Regions from separate parts of the Homo sapiens genome. Here regions 2 and 3 are each linked to region 1. The links are contacts of gene promoters, found by promoter capture Hi-C in blood cells and fetal thymus (Javierre and others, 2016). All regions are on one chromosome and are shown on one strand. The core of a region is centred on a gene start or on the middle of the fragment in contact, and the rest is flanking DNA. Distances in the headings are between cores, read along the strand shown. Region 1 holds the start of PIK3CA (phosphatidylinositol-4,5-bisphosphate 3-kinase catalytic subunit alpha). Region 2 overlaps TBL1XR1 (TBL1X/Y related 1). Region 3 overlaps TBL1XR1 (TBL1X/Y related 1).

What was found. The method cuts DNA at HindIII sites, captures the fragments that hold promoters and counts their contacts. A CHiCAGO score of 5 or more calls a contact.
Region 2: a contact is called between a fragment that was not itself captured here and the fragment with the promoter of PIK3CA in region 1, in 1 of 17 cell types (fetal thymus). The highest score is 9.0, in fetal thymus.
Region 3: a contact is called between a fragment that was not itself captured here and the fragment with the promoter of PIK3CA in region 1, in 4 of 17 cell types (naive CD4 T cells, fetal thymus, naive B cells and 1 more). The highest score is 7.1, in naive CD4 T cells.

The regions. Positions count from the first base shown.
Region 1 is chr3:179,147,078-179,149,647 of GRCh38, forward strand. It overlaps PIK3CA (phosphatidylinositol-4,5-bisphosphate 3-kinase catalytic subunit alpha), which reads left to right and starts at 1,280. Exons shown (of 21, transcript NM_006218.4): 1 at 1,280-1,526. PIK3CA-DT (PIK3CA divergent transcript) reads right to left here and starts at 896. Exons shown (of 3, transcript NR_125401.1): 1 at 839-896. RefSeq lists enhancers at 1-104, 715-834, 1,644-2,143 and silencers at 1,325-1,794, 1,855-1,904. The HindIII fragment of the contact is 3,906 bases long and covers 1-2,528 here.
Region 2 is chr3:177,053,611-177,056,180 of GRCh38, forward strand. TBL1XR1 (TBL1X/Y related 1) reads right to left here. Exons shown (of 16, transcript NM_024665.7): 4 at 163-308. Among named protein-coding and RNA genes, the nearest start is that of TBL1XR1-AS1, 17 kb to the left of the region's middle. The HindIII fragment of the contact is 6,510 bases long and covers 1-2,570 here.
Region 3 is chr3:177,105,503-177,108,072 of GRCh38, forward strand. The region is part of intron 1 of TBL1XR1 (TBL1X/Y related 1); the gene reads right to left. Among named protein-coding and RNA genes, the nearest start is that of TBL1XR1-AS1, 69 kb to the left of the region's middle. The HindIII fragment of the contact is 2,710 bases long and covers 1-2,570 here.

The sequences.
Region 1 (2,570 bases), core at 30-2,529:
CCACAAAGAGGAACAGATCCATCTCATTTACCATTGGGGTATGGACGGACGTGCGGTGTTCGAGAAGACTGTTATTGGTCAGAGTTTTGCTCTAGAGGACAAGTAGGACTGTAACATCTCTAGGATGGGTCACTTCCCAAGCCCTCTATTACTTAAAAATTCAAGGAGGAACCGATGCTGGAGTACTTGTATCTCAGACTTCTAATCACTGCTCCTACGCTTTTCCAATATTACAACAAAAGACCAGTAGGGGGAGAAAAACGCACAGTACCGAACCCTTATCAGTAGTAATCTCAAAAGTCAACAGATTGATTTACTCTCAAGCAAACAGACTTCTAAGGTACGCAGCACCAAGACACTACCTTGAATCAAATCTATAGCCTATATGACATTTCTGAAGTCTCTGTTGGCATTACGCGAAAAATCCCCCACGTCTTCTGAATAGTTAGAATTGAATCCTACAAGCTGCTTCGAATCAGAATTCGATTTAAAAAAAAAAATGAGGGCATAGCAAAAGGTCTCCACGAAGTGAGTCAAAGGACTGCAGAGGGCTGTGACAGTGCATTCCGCCTTCGGGATGGTATACAACTTAAACCATGTCGGCAGAAGAACGCACAGCAACGCTTTGTAAAAAGCATTCTTTCTATTATAGAATCCATAACCACGCTGGTTAGCCACTGACAGCGGCGGTTAGCCACCGCACCTCCTCTCACCCCCGAACTAATCTCGTTTCCTCTATGGGTGTAAAAGTGAAATAACCCACTTGCTCCCAATATTCCTTTCTATATCTCTACCCCAGCTCGCCTGCTGCTCGTAGAAACAAATATACTACACGTACGCTGTCCTAGGATGACACAACACCCTCACTACTGCAGAAGACGGATCATTAAACAAACGTCAGAAGAGCAGCCCCAACTGTACATAAACTTCGGGCGGAAAAGCAAGACGCAGGCGCAGTAGCACATATTGTTACCCTATTTGCCCACTCCCTGCTCCTCCTCGCCTCAATTTCGCTTCCGCTTCTTTGCGCATCTGCTTCCGGGGGATTGTAGGCTCTGCCCCTCCTCAGCTCTTACCCTCTTCTGCCGGAGGAGGGGGGGGGCCGAGGGGGTGGGGAAGAGTTCGTTGTTTGTTTACACGATGTGAGCGGAAAAAGAGACCAATAAAGTTTATTCTGGAAACAAAAGGAAAAAAAAACAGGGGCGACGGAGAAAGGAGTCGGGGGCGGGGGCGTGTGGCGGGGGCTAGCGAGGAGAGGGAGCGAGAAGTAGAAAGCGGCAGTTCCGGTGCCGCCGCTGCGGCCGCTGAGGTGTCGGGCTGCTGCTGCCGCGGCCGCTGGGACTGGGGCTGGGGCCGCCGGCGAGGCAGGGCTCGGGCCCGGCCGGGCAGCTCCGGAGCGGCGGGGGAGAGGGGCCGGGAGGCGGGGGCCGTGCCGCCCGCTCTCCTCTCCCTCGGCGCCGCCGCCGCCGCCCGCGGGGCTGGGACCCGATGCGGTTAGAGCCGCGGAGCCTGGAAGAGCCCCGAGCGTGAGTAGAGCGCGGACTGGCCGGTAGCGGGTGCGGTGGGAATGGGGACCGGGTGGGTGCCGGAGACTCCCGGGCGCGCCCGCCGTGTTGGGCGGAGGCTACGGGCTGGTCGTCTCCCAGCGTCGGCCCGCGGCGGAGTTCGCCTGCGATCGCCGCACCCTCTCCCTCGCCTGCCTCTGGCCTCTCCTAGCTGCAGAGGCGAGGGCTCGCCGCTCCCTCTCCTTTCTCTCTGGCTGCCGCCTCGCTCTTCCTTTGCTTCTACTCCCAGTTTTGGGGACGGGGCGGCTGGAGGTTGAGGAAGTGCGCCCAGGGCCGCCGCCCCGGCCGCGGTGGCTCTGTCTCCCGCGCCCTGCACGCCCACCCAGCCCGCGGGTGGAGGGGCTGCCGCGAGGACTGCGGCTCAAGGGACGCGGGCGCGAAACCGCGAGCTTTTCTTGAGGGGCTGTCACGCCCGAGGACTCCGGCCCCGCCAGCCTGGCGGCCCTGCGTTTGCCTCTTACTGGGTTTAAATCGCCCGGCAGGGGTATGGAAGGAACACCGCTCCCCTCACCCCCGCCAGCTCCCCTCCCACCCTTCCTTTCGAGGTTGTTTTTTCCTTTTAGCTGAGACAAACGCTTAGATCTTTCATTCATAGACCTGAGACACTGACTCATGTGACTTGTCTCTTTACTAAGTGTATTATGTGATGCCTGTTCCATGGCTCTTAAGTGGCTCGGAAAGGTAGGGTAGGGCCCGGGATTGGGCTATGTAAACACCAGACGTTCAGCCGGCGTGTTTTTGACCTCGGCTCGAGGGGTTTATTTTAGGATGCTAAAGGAATAGTGATGGTGGCCAACCGTGTTACCAGACTTGGGAATCGAAAGCTATTTTTTTATGTCAATAATTGAGACTGTTTACATGGTTAAATAAAGGGTAGGGTAAAGGGAGCGCAACAAGAGGGTCTTTCTAGAAAACAGTCTGCATATTCTTTAATGAATTAGAGTTGTGATTTCATCTTGGTGAAGCTTCCTCATTCCAGCACTGCGCCTTTGTGCACATGCAGGA
Region 2 (2,570 bases), core at 32-2,531, 2.1 Mb before region 1:
ACCTTGCCGGTGCAACCTGACTACCACATTAGGGATGAACTGCCTGCACTTTTGTTAACCCTGTGAAGCTAAAGTCAGAATACTGAATAAGCAAGCAAGACAGCTGACTTAACGGCATATTTAAGATGAAAAAAATCAGTATTTGAAATAAGTCTTCCTTACCTCATTAATACTAACTTCTGCTTCTACATACTGTAGACCTTTCTGGATGATAGAAATCAATGCAGCGGGTGGGACGAGGGCACCATTTATATTGGACTGACTGATATGGCTTTCTATACCAAAGGTAAATGCTGAATGAGAAAATCCTAAAAACAAAAGAAAAGGCATGAGAATTTATTTTCCTAGTGGCAACATGCTAAATGACACAGAAAGAAAGATCACCATCATCTTTTCAAATCCCATCCTACCCATTTAAAATCCCAGACGAAGGTCGTGTGTGTGTGTGTGTGTGTGTGTGTGTGCGCGCGCGTGTGTGTGCATGTAAACATGTCAGCCTTTACATACTTTCTTTTTCTCTTAATGTACTCTTTAAAATTTCTAGTAAATACTTGATTATATAGCTTCAAATTTTCTAAAATGTCATGGTACACAACTTTTCTTAACAAAAAGCATCAAATGTAAAAGGTAAAACAAGTCTTTGGAAATCATATAATTAAATTGCTTCATTTAAATCAGGCCAAGACAGATTAAGGGACATTTAATATTTCTGTATTATATTTTAATATTTTTTACATCTAGAATTAAGGAACTTTATTTCAAATTTTCTTTCATCCCAGCCCAGTTCAAGTATTCAGCATCTCTCAAAAGTGGTACACATAATATGCTTTAAATAGGAATTCATTCATTCTGAATGATCTTCATTTACTTCATGTAATTGTTATCTACTACGTAGTTATAATTCAATAATGTCTGTAAAGCAATCTAGCACTCAGGTAAAATCTGAAGTATTTAAATTTCTACATATAAATTGTCAAACATCTGATAAATTCAGTATTTTGGAGCTCTTTGGAACTACTTAGGAAAACTAAAATAATAAAAATAAATTCAAATATTAAAAAATCATAACGGTTAAATCTCATTTTATGTATGAATTAAGTGCTTTAAAAATACCAATTCTTTGCCACTTAGTAATAACTCATCTATATGAAATATTTAAGAAATGAACAGCTAGCAAATGATTACCTGGTTTATAGGTCTCCATCAGCAATTACTTACTCTTAACTTGAAATACTTAAAACCAAAGCACTTACTTAATAAAAATCTCTTTATGTTGGCCTTGCTTTTTATTAATATCTAGTCAAAATTCAAAGGTAAAATTCTAAGAAGCTGATAAACCAAGGGTGGTTATTTTCTTTACTGAAATATTAATCACCATTTATCATTAAGTAGTAATTTCTATGAAGTATTTTAAACAATTCAATTAAATTGTACAAGTAATATAGAATATTAATAAACATTTATACTAAACAAAGGAAATAAATACAGGCTTATTTTGGGTCTTGGTTAAACTGATTTAATCTATATAGTATGTCTGTTGGCTAGCCTGTCTAGCCTAGTTTTTTAGTGTTTAGTAATGTCTTTTTTGGATTTTGTGCTTCCACTCTTATACTCCTTGTGGTACTTATAAACAGTCTAGTAGAAAATACTGTGGGCTCACAATTTCCTAGCATGTGGCTAGGAAAATTTGGTTATTTGATAGTCAGAGTACACCTAAGTTGATTTTCCTTGTAACCCCTTCCTTCTCTCTTTGGAACACCTAACTCATTATGCTCACAACATCTAACCCACAGTGGAAAAGGCAAGTGGAAAAATGTTACCTCTAAAACCTTGATTTTAGCCCCTGATTTTGCCCATAAGCAAGATCATAATTAAATGCATTTATAGTTTTCATAGTTTTCACCTTAATCTGGGCTCACAGAGATACCAATCGGGGGGCGGGGCGGGGGTGGGGGGGTGGGGGCGGAGAAGCACCGTTTTGAATTGTCCCTATCAGGAAGCCCACAACTATCTGAATATGAGTAGATTCCAGATCACCAAGGCAGAAAACAGAATAAGGATGAGGGAGGATGGGGAGAAACAATGAGAGACATAGCAGTAAAATCCTTAAGCAGTGAGGTTGGAGATTCCTGTTTTCAATTATATAACCCCTCCCTGAATAAATTCACAGTAAATCATCCATAGTAAAAACAGCCAAACGCCAAGCAGCTTAAGAGATTTAAGAAAACTTCAAGACAGAAGACATCATTTACAGAGGGCCTATACCATATGCTAGATACTGTGTACACACATATAATTTTATTATTTTATAATCTAATGGAAAATCACAACTAATAAATGAGAAAGTACAGATTCAAATTCATTCAGAGACTCTACTACTCCTCTTGAACAGTTAAAATATGGTCAAGGATAAAGCTAAGGGAGAGAGTGAGCTCCTGTTTCCTGATAGAAAGTAAAAGACTACATCACTGTTTTGTTTTCATCTCAGGGTCCTGGAAAGTGGTTGCACAGTGCATGAAACACTGAGCCATCTTATTGCCATATTTACTGCCAAGGTTTTGAAAGTGTCT
Region 3 (2,570 bases), core at 27-2,526, 2.0 Mb before region 1:
TAGATTTCTCACTCTTCCTAAGGTTTGAATATCTGATTCAAGGTATTAAGAATCTGAATAGCTAATTAGGCTACAACACACAAATCATTCAGTTGAACACATTTCCAATAGAAATGAGAATGGCTCTGCCAAGAAGACTGTCTTTGATTAGCTCTGTCCTACAGAAATGCCCCAGATTAGAACCTAACTATGACGTGGTGAGCCCCTCACTCAGATGTAATTGGTCTAGGGTAGGATCTACATCACTTGCATTTAAAATCCTCCCCACCCACCCCGTGTCAGTGTGTGGGTGTGTGTGTGCATGTGTGTGATTCCAATGGGGACTGAGAACCACTGGGTGGGGGTGGGAAGGGAAGGGACAGGATGGAGAATTTTACTAGTCAGGTCTAATTATTAACCTAAGGCAGGAGAGTCGCTTCTTTCAAATACTAAATTGCAAAGTGAGAGGTGTTCAGAACTAGAGGGAGAAATATGTTAATACTACATCGGACTAAATTAAGTGGTTTATTAATCTAATTTTAAGATTAATGATGACAAACAAAAGATAAACTCAATCTGTCTCCCAAAAATGAACAGAAAAGTAAGGACAATGATAATGAAGACACCATAAACAGAAAGGGGCCTAAAAAGACTTCAAAACATAATAACAAAAAAAAGAAGAAAATGCATAAAAAACACATAAAGCCCAAATGAGCCTCAGCTATGTGTGACAAAATTTTAAGTAGTAGGCAGAAGTTATAGAAAGGTATTTTTTTCCTATTCAATATAAAGGGAAACCATCGCGCAAATCAATGACAATGTTCAAACAAAATCTGGATATGTGATTCATCAAGGAAGTTCTAGTGGGCACTTAGGCAAATGAGCTGAAGTTTGTTCTACGTGCGCCCCATCCCTTTCTAACTTAGCACTCAAGTGTATTATCAGCGCCAGCACTAGCTTCTGCAGTACCTTTGTGCAAATTAGACTCTAGCAAAATAAATTACAAAAAGGAAGCCACGTGGTATCGGAGGTTAAGAGCCTGGAATTGTGGAGCCACACAGGTGGGTTTGGACTCCCTGGCTCTGACTCTTAGTAACTAGATAACCTCTCTCAGTGCCTTCGCTTTTTCATCTGTAAAATAAGTTAGGAGAGTGGAATAAAAAGTGCTAATCAGTGCCTAGCATAGTAATAAGACATAATGCATATTAAATAACAGAAATAAATTGTTATAAAGGAAGCTCCTTCCTCTGTGAAGACAGTCCGCTAACAGGGAAACAGCTTGGCCTGGATTTCAGTGCCCACTTTTCCCTTGGCTGTGTACCTCTGTGCAGGACACAAACTGCCCATTCAGATTCTGCCGTCCTGTGTGCTACTAAGGCTATTGAATCCAGGTACATTATGTCTTTTAGTGAATTAACACAACAGCATTACTACTAAAAAAAAAAATTATCATTTATAAAACTTTTTAATTACAACAGATTTGGAATATGCCCACAGTAGTCATCCTGACTAGCATAACCTCACAGTGATAATGAACACCTTCTAAATGAAGCAGTTCTTCAAACACTCTTCACAACTAAACAGCTTCAATTTTTACTTTGTAATAGAATGCAATAGGCCTCTTTAAAAAAAAAATTAAGAATATGTCAGCGGATAATTACTAAACTGAAAACTGTCATTCTGAAGTGCTTTGGACACACAAAAAATATACACACTTACATTAAACTAGATATTAGGTTCAGAATTCTGAAATGTTATGTTTCTATTTATCCACTACTGATGAACTCAAAGAGTCGCTCTTATGTGTCCTTACAGAAAACATTTCCTTACAGATTCACGTGAAAAAAAGTTTTCAAATTGGTTTCTTTAATTTCATATTTTGAAAGTTGGCATAATCTAGACAGTATCAGCAAATGCTTTTCCTTCAGTAAATTAAAACAAATATTTCATTTAACTACCACATTCCAATCAAAATAGCTGCCAGAAATACATTCATTTATGAAATCAAGGTTGTATGGGGGTTTTTTTAGTGGAATATTCTTAATTCTGGAGAATGCCAAGTTCTCATCCGGTGTTGGTTTGCCAAAATGCTTTCAATTTAACTTGTTCACCAAACTTAAAATGATACATTCGAACCAGCAAACACAAGCTGTGTTATCTGCCTGACCCATTCAAGGAGCCACTTCTGGTTCACACACACATAGATACACCATCCGGGGATCATGAAACGAAACTACCTTTCTTAAGATCTCATATATTATATATATTTCAATACAGAAAACTCCTCTCTGTGCCCAGCACCCAAGTTACGATAATAAAACACCAACTGAGATTATCTGAATACAACTACTCCATCTTACTTCTCAGTCATTGGCACGCAATGGTCTAAGGCAAACTATGGCCAGTTAGCAGATATTTTTTTATTTTGCAGGCCATTTGGTCTCTGTCACTACTACTCAACTCTGCTATTATACAGCAAAGTAGCCACAGACAATACATTAAAAAATGAATGGGCATTACTCTTTCTAATAAAACTTTATTCAAAAAAAAAAAAGATAACACACCAGATATGGTCCACAGGTCATAGTTTG